Linked DNA regions of Homo sapiens: region 2 is linked to region 1. Evidence: promoter capture Hi-C in 16 types of primary human blood cells and fetal thymus (Javierre and others, 2016). All regions are on one chromosome and are shown on one strand. The core of a region is centred on a gene start or on the middle of the fragment in contact, and the rest is flanking DNA. Distances in the headings are between cores, read along the strand shown.

Region 1 (6,473 bases), core at 3,974-6,473:
AGAACTGGCTGGACAGCTCCAGGGATCAGGCTGGAGCTGGGGCCGCTGCAGAGGCCCTGGTCCCCCACCCCCACAGACCCTGCAGCCTCCAGACCACCCAGCCCTGTAGCTCCCTTTAGGGGCCCCAGAGCCACTGCCTTGGTAGGAGGCACAGAAAAAGCCAGTCTGGGTGAGTGGGCACCTCCTGTCTTACCCCTTCCCCTGCACCAGCCCTGCTGGGAGGACGAGCTGAGCTGTGACCTTCCTGGGTCTAGCAGCCAGCAGTCCACCCCTGCAGGGACCCCAGCCCCCAAAGCATTCTCACTTGGAGTGAGAACATCACTCAAAATGTGGCAAGATCAGTGAAATCAGCAGTTTCCTCCCAAATCTCTGCCCTCAAACCTGAGCTGGGCTGACCAGCCGGGGGGGTCGAGGATGGGGAGGGCAGCTGAGGAGGGCTAAGGGAGGCTCCCACCCTCTCTGCCTTTTCCTCCCTCCTCCCCTACCCGCCCCACAGCGGGCCAGCTGTTCTCCAGCTGCCAGAAGCTCCCACCCTAGAAGTAGCCATGCTCTGGGGCAGCAGAGCAAGTAGGGATGTATCTGTCTCCCCCACCTCCAGCCCAAGGACCCCGGAGGGACCCTGCCAAGCAGCCACACCCTGCCAGGCTGGGGAGGGCTTCCCTCCTTCCTGGAACAGGGTCTCAATTTTTACAGGAGGAAGCAATTTGCAGAGCCCACTAGGAGGGAGGTGGGGGCCCCTCCACTCTCTCCCCACCCCCCGCCCTGCTTATTAATGTGCTTCCAATTTGGGACTGGAGATTCTCTGCCCCTCCTCCCCACACTACTTGGGAAAGGGGCTTTCTCAGGGAGCAGAGGGGGTTGGGATAGTCCCCCCAGGCCTCCTTCTGCAAAGCTCATCTCATCTGTTGTCACGCTCCTGCTCCCTGAAGCAGTATAGCGGGTAGGAGGGTGGAGACTCAGCCCTCAAGTCCCCTGTAGAGAGAAGGGCCCAGTTTCCAGACCTCCCTTCACCCCCTCCCTGGGACTGACTTATCTCCTCATCTTGTCCTGGTCCCAGGGTGGGAATCTCAGGTATCCAGTGAGAGACAGACTATAGGGGGTCACTGGGTTTCTCAGTTCTCAGTTACCATGCCAGACTCCTGGTACTCTGGGTCGCCCACTGGGCTCCCACCAGCCACTCAGTCAGTGCCCTCATGAGAGTCACGGTGTCATCTAAGAACAAATAGGTTTCCTCTGCGCCCTTCCTCTCGCTCGCATACACAGTTGCGTCACAGCCACTGTCCTGCTCATTCACTGTTACCCGCATCTCTCTCCTGCTGGGTTTTTAAAAATGTCTTTATTGTGATAAAATATACATAACATCAAGTTTACCATTTTAGCCATTTCTAAGTGTACAATTGAGAGGCATTAATTACATTCCTTCTTTGTTTTTATCAGTGTCTTTCTCATTGTCTTCCACATAGATGCCACACGTCAGGGACCACAGGCCCCCAAAAGCATCCCACAGAGCCTCCTACACGCCCTGCCTGGCACAGCCCTGGGGGTGTCACCCACACTACCCGAGAGTCCCAAACACGCTCAGATAGTGACCACCCACCCACAGCGCCAGCATCAGTCACGCCCCACGGTTTCTCTCACATACGGTGTCGCTTTCTGGTGCTCAGTGTCACCCACACACCGCATACCATATTCATGCTTGGCACATGTCGGATGGGGCCCACCTTGCTGGTACACACATCATACTGACACAGAGCTGGTCATGTTGTTTTACTCGCATGTAGTGTCACATGTAAGTCACACACAGACAAACCTGAGGCCATCTCACATGCTGCGTCACAACATGCAGGTCACAAGTGGTCACACCACAGCGTAACACATCACACAGATCGCCACTCATCCGGCTTCTCACGCACACGCGCCCGCGCGCTCACATACACACAGCATCGTGCGAGTGCGGTGTCCTTCACACGCAGGTCACTTGAGCATCAGAGCCACACCCAGTGTCATCTCCAGGTACACACAGATGGCTAGGCAGCCAGCTTCCTTCATCGGCACATCCTGGGTGATGCCCTGGCACACACAGAACATCCCCCATGCAGGTTCTCAGGTACAGAGGTGGCGGCACACCTGGACACATGAAGAGTCACCCAGTTTCTCTTATGGACGTGTATATCTGTCACACACACGAATGTCACAAAGCCACAGTTTCTCTCCTGCATACACCCAGCCCTGCACAAGTTGCTCTGACCAAGGTTCTCTTCCACACACATCCAGCCCCACAGAAGACAAGTCTCACCCACATAGAATGTCCCACTCATGGCTTCTCTCACACACATCCAGCGTCACACACAGTTGCATTCTCATTTCCCTCTAACACTTCCTGCCCTTTCAGGCCTGGCAGGGAGCACAGGAAACAATCGGCACTCTAGGAAACCCCAAGGGCTGAGGCTTTAGGGATGTGCAGGGGGATGAACCTCTCTGGCCCTAACCTCAACCTCCTGTGGGTCGGGGAAGACAGGCAGAGCCCTTTCCCTGGCAGGGTTCTCCCTGGAGGGAAGTGGCCCCTTCTGCAGACAGCCCAGGGCTGGCACAACACCAGGAGGGGAGGGGAGGGAAGGCAGGGCAAGGCCCCAGGGACAGTGCCGAGTGTGACCTGCTGACCTCCCCAGCTCTACCCAGAGGCAGATCCTCAGGGCCACCCCTGGGACCCCACAGCTTCTGCAGCCCCCATGTGGGAAGAAGAGGCTGCGACCTCCTAGCCCCTTCACAGAAAGCTGCAGCGTTTAGACCCCTGGGCTCCTCTCCCCATCCTGGGCGGGGAGGAGGAGGAGGGCAGGACCAGCGATTTCCACACTGAGCCCTGGGACCCCCACAGGTGTCTGGGAGTGGGGCAGAGGGTAGAGCCACCCAAGCGGCCTCTGAGCACCCTTTGTGCCATTCAGCCCTAACAGAACCCATGACCACTTCAGAGGCAAGATCCCCCAATCCACCAAGCCCCCCTGTCCCTTGACACCTGCCCCCCGCCACCTTTTCAGCCCTGTTCATCTGGCTGAGCTACTCCTCAGTCACCCCTTGGTTTGTCCTTGCCTTCTTCTTTGGGCCACTGGATCACCCACCCGCCTCTCCAGACCCCACCAAGTTCAGGTTCCATCATGGGAGAAGGAAGGCAAACTGGGAGACAGACTCTGGGAGGAGCTCAGAGAAAAGGGACTTGAGAAGTCATTCATTCCAAGCAGGGAAACTGAGGCCCAAAGGGGCCTGCCAAGATGGCGCAACTGGTTAAAGGTCCGGAGGGGACCAGATCCCTATTTCTTGACCACCTCTGTTGAGATATCTTCTCCTTTGATATTGTTGAGAATATCAAATCCTCCCGGTTTTAACATTCCTTCAGTTGGCAGAAAGTGCCAGGGTCTACAAACCTTTGGGTGAGGATGGGAGCAGGGCTCAGGACCCATGTGATGCTTCTGTACACTTAATGTGCTGCTCTGTCCTGGCAACCACTGACCACTCTAACAAGCCATTCCCCAGCCCAGATGCGCTCATTAGCATTAATGACGTTCCCTCCCTGGGGGGGTAGGGGAAGGCCCAAGAGCTTGGGACTCATACTGGCTCCTACCCTCTCCCTGAGGAGGGGGCATCCAGGGCCCCTGAAGTTACCCTTACTGGACAGCCTTGTCCTGGAAGATCTGTGCACTCTGCCCACTGGGTGAGCAGGGACCCAGAAGACCACAGAACCACATCCTTTAGGGAGTGCCCCTACGAGAGGGGTCTTGGTGGGAGGGGGGCTACAGGAGTCTAGAAGGGAGAGGACATAATTCCCCCAAATCTCCAACTTTTGAGGAAAGCCTCCCCTCCTTGCCCCAGGTGGCCCCAGCACTGGGGTGGAACATGTGTACAGAGAACCAGGCCACAAGAGACTGGATACGCAGAGCCGCTATGGGCACCAGCCCCTCTGAGCTGTGTCCAGCCCCTACCCCTATGCCCTGTTCTTCCGGACAACAAGTCCAGGCCTGACCTGGTTCTGCCCCTACCTGGAAAGAGGGAAGACACAGAAGAAGACAGCCCCTGAGAAGTCCGCCCCAAGGCCTCCTTCCCCCTCGCACTGAAAGAATCTCTCAGCCCTGGATCAGGGCCCCTCACCAGGAAAGTTGACAGAGCGGGGTCTCAATGACACTGCCCCAGGGCCCAGCTGGGCTGGAAAACAGATCCAGACCAGCGCTCCCAGCCCTCCCTCCCCTAGCAGGAATAAAGGGCATGACAGACAATGGTGGGGACCGGGGTAGGAAGCGGGAGACCAGCCACCCTCAAACCTTGTCAAGTCTAAACAAGGGCCCTGAGCAAGTGTGGGGAAGAAAAGGCCCCAAATCCAGACCCCTCCGAGCCAAGCTCACAGCGCTCAGGGCTGGAACTCTGAATCAGCACCCCGACGCAGGCGGCAGAACTGAAGGGAACGTGAGCCCCTCCCTGCCTCTCAGGGGACACACGGCCGGGGCGCGCGGCTTTGGTCCCAGACACCCTCCACAACCCAGCGCAGCCGCGGCACCGCGCGCAGAAACCGGCCTGGGCGCTGGGAGGCCGGGCCCGAGGCCTGCGTGGAGCTGAGGCCGGGCGGGCTCCGGGAGCGCGCGGGCCGGGAGTCCAAAGGGCGGCGGGGCCCGGGACTGGGCGCCCCGGATATGAGCTCCAGGGTGGCAGGCAGGCCCTCCACACTGTGCGGCCCCCGGATCCCCGCCCCGACCCCCCAAGCACGGACGGCGGGACAGGCGACGGCACAGGGGACACGGTCTCCCCGGCTTCCCCACCTTCCCGGACCAACTCGTCCCCGTCGCGGGGGGGTGGGGAGGGCGGGGGGCGGGGCTTCCCGGAGAGATTTTCCCCCTTCCCTCTAAACTTCCCGGCACCCCGATCCGGGGCTCCAGCTCCGGCTGGACAATAGCTCGGGGACCCAGTCCCCCTCGAGTGTCGCCCCCCCAGCCAGCCCAGCCGACCAACCAAACCACCTCTCCCGAGCGGGGCCTCCTCCCGGCGTCCGCCCGGCTTACCTGGTCCGAGCTCGCGGGGGCGCTCCGGCCGGGCCGCTCCGCCGGGCCCGAGGGAGCCGCAAGGGGGGCCGGGGAAGGGGGGTCGTGGGGAGGGGGCTGGCCGGAATGTGCGGAATGAGCCGGGCTGGAGCGGGAGGCGCCGAGCGCGGAGGAGGGAGCGAGCGGGACGGAAAGTTTGTGTTGAGGAGCCGGGGCGGGGGTGGGGGCTGCGGGAAGGAGGGGGCGGGGCGCGCAGGGGGCGGTGCTGGCCGGGAGGGGCGGGGCCGTCCAGCCGCGCTCGGGCCGCCTACCCCGCGGCCTCGCGACCCGGCCACCCCGGCTGGCGCGCGCCTGGGCGCCCCGCTCCTCGCCCGCCCGTGCGGAGCTGCCTTCCTCCCCCTGCGCTCCGGGCCTCGCCCCGCTCCCGGGCACCCGCCGGAATTTGGGGCTCCGGCCTGGGGCGGGGCCGAGGGCGGAGCCCTCGCCTCGCGGGCAGGGCTCCCGTCGGTGCCGGGGGCCGTGGGTGCCGCGTCACGAGGAGCCCGGCAGAGCCGGAGCGCACGGGCCCCGGGGCTCCCGGCCCCTCCACCCTAGTCCCGAGCCGCCAAGGCGGAGCGTACCCTCCAGCTCGCGGGCCTGCCCCCCACTCCCGGGGCCCCAGACCCGGCTCCGCCCTGGCGGCTGCGCCCGCCCTGCCGGGACCCGGTTTGTCTGGTTCTCCCCGCGTGGCTAGTTTCTCGAATTTCTTCTCCCTTTCTCCCTCTTCCCCGACCTCCGGGACCCTCCCTTTCGCCCCGGCTCCCCGGGCCCCCACGGGGGGCGTCTCGACGCTGTGCGGCCGCCGAGTTTCGGTAGGACCCGCGACGGGCGCGGGGAGGGGACGCGGGAGCGCCCGGGGCCTGGGCAGGAGTGGGACGGGGGTTGAGACTTCCAGCTCGCGCCTCGGACGCCTCCTGCCGCCTCGTTCTCCGCACGCGCTGAGGAACCACCGCTCCGCTTGGCCAAGGACGCGGCTTTATTGGGGATGTGGGTGCCTGGCCCTCGTCCCCCATCACCTACCCCCTCCTCCTAGCCCGCCCCAGCTCCTCGGAGCCCTAGCGCGGTCCCGGGGAGAGGGGAGGTTAAAACAACAATGACTACTGCTCCCGGACAGGAAGTGACTGGGGCGCGGGGAGGAGGGGGGCACAGCGGCGCAGGCGAGCTCCGAGACCAGATGTGCGGCTCCAACTCCAGATGTTCTTCATCTCCGTCCTACCCGCCGTCCGGGCTCCTCCTGCCTCGGCCTGTGCCAGGCTGGGGAGAGGACGGAGGTCACCGAGAGGCAGTGAGAGGTCAGCCCCGACACAGGAGCAGTTTTCCGCGGGAGCTTTGCTGGAGGGACCCTGCCAGCCTCCACTGAATCCTTTCCCCCACGCTGACGGGCTCTGGGGGCGCTGAGGGGCTGCTGGGGTC
Region 2 (6,473 bases), core at 2,806-5,305, 320 kb after region 1:
TGGGAGGGCGAGGTGGGCAGATTGCTTGAGCTCAGGAGTTCGAGACCAGCCTGAGCAACATGGCGAAACTGTGTCTCTACAAAAAATACAAAAATTAGCTGGGTTAATAAAAATATTGAGTATATATATATATATTCTTTACTATATATTCATTTTATACATATATATATATATATATATATATATATATATATATATATATGAACAAAGGGAAAATGAAGATTTAGTAGTTTTATGCCAAAGAGGAGTGAAATAGACCCTAATATGCTTGCCAGCTCTTCTTCCCTATCAGGGTTATGGGATGCTGGAGACACAACCATCTCTCTCATTCTCAGGGCTGTCTGCAAACCCCCCTTCCCTGAAACATCCCCCAACAGGTGCCATGTGTGAGCAGGCAGTGCCAGGAGGGGGAGGGGTTGACAGGCCATCTGAGTCAGACACTATCTGGGTAGAAAAGCTGGAGACACTGATAGCAGAGGTGGCCAGGTGCCATCTCATGCAACATTTATGTTAGGGAAGGCAAGACTGGTGTCATGTTCCATTCTGCTGTGCTGCGGAAGGGGAAATGAGCCGAAGGGAGAGATGCAGAGTGGGCGGGTCCCATATCCAGCAGCTGGGAGATACATCTATTCATTAGTACCCTTGCCAAGAAGCCTGGGAACAGGGAGGGGGCAGGGGCAAGGAGGACTGATGCTTGGGCGATGTGGGGCTGCAGCTTAACAAGATTAATTGGGCTTCTGGGTGCCAGGTGTAGGCTGGGAGTTGTCCCAGCTCCTAGAAACACAGGTAGACCAAACTGCTTGTCTTCTCTGAGTCTTGGTAACCTCATGTCTTAGTCAGTTTTACTTAGTTCTATTTAGTCAGGGCTGCCATAACAAATTACCATAGATTAGGGGGCTTAAAACAACAGAAATTCATTTCTCACAGTTCTGGAGCCTGGAGGTCTGAGATCTGGGTGCCGGCATGGCATTAGCACGAGATCTCTGATGAAGGCCTCTTCTAGGCTCTAGACTGCTGACTTCTTGATGTCCTCACATGGTGAAAAGAGGATGACAGGGCTCTCTGAGGTCCCTTTTATGTATTTATTTGCATTGATGATTATTATTATTGAGTCAAGGTCTCAAAAATGATTATTTTTACCCAGGCTGGAGTACAATGGCATGAACACACCTCATTGCAGCCTTGACCTCCCAGGCTCAAGTGATCCTCCCTCCTCAGCCTCCCGAGTAGCTGGGACTACAGGTGCATGCCAGCACACCCAGCCAATTTTTGTATTTTTTGTAGAGATGGGGTTTCACCATGTTGCTCAGGCTGGTCTGGAACTCCTGAGCTCAGGCGATCTGCCTGCCTCAGCCTCCCAAAGTGCTGGGATTACAGGCGTGAGCCACCGCACCCGGCCTTATTATTGTTTTTAATTGACATAATAATTGTACATATTTATGGGCTACAGTGTGATATTTCGATACATGTATACAAGCTGGGCTTGAAATCCAGGCAGCCTGATCTAATGTTTCCTAGCTTTTCCTACTGAGAAAATGAAGGTAATTAGCATATCCATCACCTCAAACACTTAAAACATTTCTTTGAGTTGGGACGATTTCAAATTTGCTGTTCCAGCTATTTGAAAATATACGATAGATTGCTGTTGGTTATACTCACTCTACAGTGCTAAAGAACACTAGAGCTTACTCCTCCTGTCTAGCTATACTTTTGTATCCATTAACCAACCTTTAGCTGCCCCCGCTCCCCTCTGGGGTCCCTTTTATAAGGGTTCCAATCCCATTCGTGGAGGGCCCTACCCTCATGACCTAATCACCTCCCAAAGGCCCCACCTCCTAACACCATCACACTGGAGGTTAGGATTTCAACACAGGAAATCTGGGAGGAACAAACATTCCACTGTACCCCATCTGTAGAACATAGCAGCAGTACCCACTTCAGGGGGGTTCTGTGAAGATGGGATAATAGAATGCATGTAAAACACCTTGCACATGGTAAGTGCTCAGTACCTGTGAAAAACACAAAAAACAGGCTGGGCATGGTGGCTCAAGCCTGTAATCCCAGCATTTTGGGAGGCCGAGGTGGGTGGATCATGATGTCAGGAGATCGAGACCATCCTGGCTAACACAGTGACACCCCGTGTTACAAAAAAATACAAAAAAATTAGACAGGTGACATAATCCAGGATGCAACTGGGAAAGTCCCAGGCACAGCTGCCCTGTGGGCAGGGGATAATCCCCCCAAAAAATACAAAAAAATACAAAAATAAAAAATTAGCTGGGCTTGGTGGCGGGCGCCTGTAGTCCCAGCTACTTGGGAGGCTGAGGCAGGAGAATGGCGTGAACCCAGGAGGCAGAGCTTGCAGTGAGCCAAGATCGCGCCACTGCACTCCAGCCTGGGCGACAGAGTGAGACTCCGTCTCAAAAAAAAAAAAAAAAAAGAAAGAAAAGAAAAACACAAGAAACAACTATATCAGTGAGCATGAGAAGTGATGCCGTAGTAACAAACCACTCCCAAATCTTGGTGGCTTAGAACAACGGTTTATGTATTTCTTGCTTATGGTCCGTGCCAACCGGGGATCGGTGGGGGCTCCGCTCTCACTGTTGTCTCCTGGGACCCTCGCTAGTGGCATCAGTCACCATCAGCTGTCCTCGCATCAGAGGGAAGGGAACTCTGGGAGGTCTCCCACTGCAGCTAAGTGCTGTGGCCCGGAAATACACACATCTCTGCTCACATGTCATTGGCCAGAGGAAGGCAGATGGCCTCACTTAACCTCAAGAGAGCGGAGCAAGGAAGTACAACCTTGCCTTGCACCTGGAATATTCGTGAGCAGCTCTAATGGCATCCATGTCACTGAGGTGGCTTCTGTCTGACTCCAATGTCAATAATAATAGCAGTGACTAACATTAATTGGCCACTTTCCATGTACAAGACATCATAGTAAGCGTTTTCTGTAAATGATCACACTTAATCCTCACAGTGCTGCTATGAGTCAGATACTTTACAGACAACAGGACGGAAGTCAGAGAGGGTAAGTAACCTGGCCTGAGAACACTGTGCTGGCTTCTGCTTAGAGCCTTGAGATGCCACAACTGGGGCTGACACCCACTGTCCCCAGAACCGTGGGTGGATGGGTAGAGTGCTCGCAGGGGACTGTGGCACCAACACCCTGTTTCCAGGTCAGAGGCCCTGGGCTTTTTTCCGGAGCCCCCACAGGAAGATGGTGCAGGAGGGGAGGGGCCACGGGAGGAAGTGATGGAGAGAATGCAAAGCCTGGAAGGGCAGCTCCTTCCCACCTTCACCTCTGCCCATGAAGCCAGGGGCCCTGCCAGGCACTGGAGGGCTGGACTCACATCAAGTCGGGGAAGGGCTGGCTACGTAGGTTTCACCACGGAGCTGTGGATGGCTCCCTCTCCTCCACCGTGGGTATCTTCCTGAACACTTAGTTTTCACTGAACACGTAGGAAGTCTGAAATGTCACCGCTAATTACATTCAGCCCCTGGGAGAGATGTCATGTTCTGGGGGTGGAGGGAATAAACTTTGAAGTCAGGAAAGTCAGGAATGGAGAACTCAGGCCTTGGCCCTGTCATAGCTGGATGACTGGATGGCTGGTAAGTCACTTGGTTTCTTTGAGCCCTCAGTTTTCTAATCTGTAAAATGAGGATATTAATAGCCAGCCCACTTCACAGAAAGGTGATCACAGTCAAGATGGTACATGAAGTATTTTGTGATCTATAAAGAACTATCTAAATAAGCTTCTCCTAAAAAAGATCAAAGGAAGCGTGATACATTTAGGTGGGGAGGTGGGACCCTGATTTTTCCATTTACTGTGCATTTGTTTGACCTCCTGACCTTCTTTGTAGAACAAGCTGGAAGCAGGGAAGGTAACTTTAGGCCTGAAGAGGTGCTTTTCTGAGGGTCTCCTGAGTAGGGTACAACCTTGGGACTAGAGAGCCTCCAGACCTGTGGGAAAGTGGCACAGATAAGGGGAGCACCCCCTGCCCGTGGGGCAGCTGTGCCTGGGGCTGGCTGCCCCAGTTGCATCCTGGATTATGTCACCTGTCTCTGCTTCACCCCAGCAAAGCTAAGGTGAGGGGATGGTTTGATGGAAAGGGATGGAAGAAGTGGGGGGAAAGTGGGGGCAACAGAATTTTTAGCTGTAAATAATAAGTCAAGTAAGGCACAGGGTGTGATAATAACTCTCACAGTCAACTCTTATGGAGTGCCAAGTCTGTGCCAGGCACTGTTCTACACTCTTTTCCAGTATTAACTCATTTGAACCTTGCTGTAACCACAACAGGAAGGTTAGGGTTATTATTATGTCCATTTTGTAGATGAGGAAACTGAGGCAAACAAAGCTTAAGTATGGCTGGGCACGGTGGCTCACGCCTGTAATCCCAGCACTTTGGGAGGCCAAGGCCGGCGGATCACTTGAACCCAGGAGTTCAAGACCAACCTGGCCAACGTGGCAAAACCCCGTCTCTATGAAAAATACAAAAATTAGCCGGGCATGGTGGTACATGCCTGTAATCCCAGCTACTCAGGAGGGTGAGGCAGGAGAATCACTTGAATCCGGGAGGCGGGTGTTGCAGTGAGCCGAGATCGTGCCACTGCACTCCAGCCTGGGCGACAGAGCAAGACTCTGTCTCAAAAAAAAAGAAAAGAAAGCTTAAGTTGCTTGCTCTGAGTCACATAGCTAGGTAGCAGAGAACTGGGTTTGAAATCCAGGCAGCCTAGTCTAGTGTTTCCCAGCTTTTCCTACTGAGAAAATCACCTGGAAGAGTGCTTTTGAAAACAGGGATTATTGAACCCAACCATGACCTAGGAACTAGCATTTTTTTTTTTTTTTTTTTTTTTTGAGATGGAGTCTTGGTCTGTTGCCCAGGCTGGAGTGCAGGGGCGCCATCTCGGCTCACTGTAGCTCCGCCTCCCAGGTTCACACCATTCTCCTGCCTCAGCCTCCCGAGTAGCTGGGACTACAGGCGCCCACCATCATGCCCGGCTAATTTTTGTATTTTTAGGAGAGACGGGGTTTCACCGTGTTAGCCAGGATGGTCTCGATCTCCTGACTTTGTAATCCGTCCACCTCGACCTCCCAAAGTCCTGGGATTACAGGCGTGAGCCACCGCACCCGGCCTCCAGGGGATTCTTAAATTTAGGGACGTGTAGCAACTGGACTATGCTGTACTGGGTAAGAGTGAGGAGGAAACCTGTTTGCTTGAATGGAAGGCTTTTGAAGGAAGCAGCCAGGGACAGTCTGGAAAGCCTTCCTGTATACATTAAATCTAAGATACCTGAGTTGTAGGACACACTGTTATTCTATGTACCATAAAAACAAAATATACTGATAATCTGGCCATGGCCTGACACTTTCTTTTTCCTTTTCCTTTTTTTTTTTTTTTTTTTTTGAGACGGAGTTTCGCTCTTGTTGCTCAGGCTGGAGTGCAATGGTGTGATCTCAGCTCACCGCAACCTCTGCCTGCAGGGTTCAAGCTACTCTCCTGCCTCAGCCTCCCCAGTAGCTGGGATCACAGGCATGTACCACCACTCCCTGCTAATTTTGTATTTTTAGTAGAGAACAGGGTTTCTCCATGTTGGTCAGGCTGGTCTCAAACTCCCAACCTCAGGTGATCTGCCCGCCTCGACCTCCCAAAGTGCTGGGATTACAGGTGTGAGCCACCACCCCCAGGCTAGACACTTTCTTATTGAGCTTATTTCACAGATGTTGTAAGTACGAAGAAATGTACATCTCAGCAGTGATGAGTTCTTTGGGCTGGGACTAGATACCGGAGGGCTTTGAAGCCAGGGTAGGTGGTGCCTGGTTGAGTCCAAGGTGAGGAGAATGGCTGAAGGCCTGGGAGGACCACCTGGTGTGGTGGCAGAGCCGGCCTGGGCTTAGGAGCTCAGCTCTGCCTCCGCCCCAACTACTGGGTCTCGGGGGCCAGTTGCTTTAACTCTCAGAGCCTCAGTTTTCTCACCTGTGTTCTGCAAGAAGGATGGTAGAGGCTGCCTCTCATGCCTCCTGAGGCTGTTAACAGAAGGAGAAGGGAGGTGACAACATAACAGCAGTGCAAGGTGTGGGAGGTAGCGGGCTAGGCACACTCGGCCTGATGCCATGTGCACCCCTCCTTCCCCCTCAGCCACAGGCCTAATGATTGGCTGCCTGGTCTACCCTGATGGTTGGGACTCAAGTGAGGTGCGGCGCATGTGTGGGGAGCAGACGGGCAAGTACACGCTGGGCCACTGCACCATCCGCTGGGCCTTCATGCTGGCCATCCTCAGCATTGGCGACGCCCTCATCCTCTCCTTCCTGGCCTTCGTGTTGGGCTACCGGCAGGACAAGCTCCTCCCTGACGACTACAAGGCAGATGGAACCGGTAATCACCCAACTCCACAATGGTGTCCCCTGCCTGGAGACCCTGGGATGTGGGTGGGGGTTCATCTTAGCCAGTCCTCTAAGGCTTGGTCCCTG

What was found. Contacts are between HindIII fragments. The CHiCAGO score rates a contact against its expected background, and 5 or more counts as called.
Region 2: a fragment that was not itself captured here is called in contact with the fragment with the promoter of TEAD3 in region 1 in 1 of 17 cell types (M1 macrophages); the score reaches 5.4 in M1 macrophages.

Annotation. Positions count from the first base shown.
Region 1 is chr6:35,491,856-35,498,328 of GRCh38, forward strand. TEAD3 (TEA domain transcription factor 3) reads right to left here and starts at 5,224. Exons shown (of 13, transcript NM_003214.4): 1 at 5,043-5,224. TULP1 (TUB like protein 1) reads right to left here. Exons shown (of 15, transcript NM_003322.6): 15 at 6,019-6,473. The coding sequence ends at 6,472. LOC124901309 (a long non-coding RNA gene) reads left to right here and starts at 6,278. Exons shown (of 2, transcript XR_007059561.1): 1 at 6,278-6,352. RefSeq lists enhancers at 1-971, 1-468, 3,468-4,253, 5,200-6,130, 6,131-6,473 and 1 more and silencers at 5,032-5,081, 5,262-5,391, 5,402-5,731. The HindIII fragment of the contact is 26,537 bases long and covers 1-6,473 here.
Region 2 is chr6:35,808,405-35,814,877 of GRCh38, forward strand. It overlaps LHFPL5 (LHFPL tetraspan subfamily member 5), which reads left to right. Exons shown (of 4, transcript NM_182548.4): 2 at 6,142-6,378. Among named protein-coding and RNA genes, the nearest start is that of LHFPL5, 6.3 kb to the left of the region's middle. The HindIII fragment of the contact is 603 bases long and covers 3,755-4,357 here.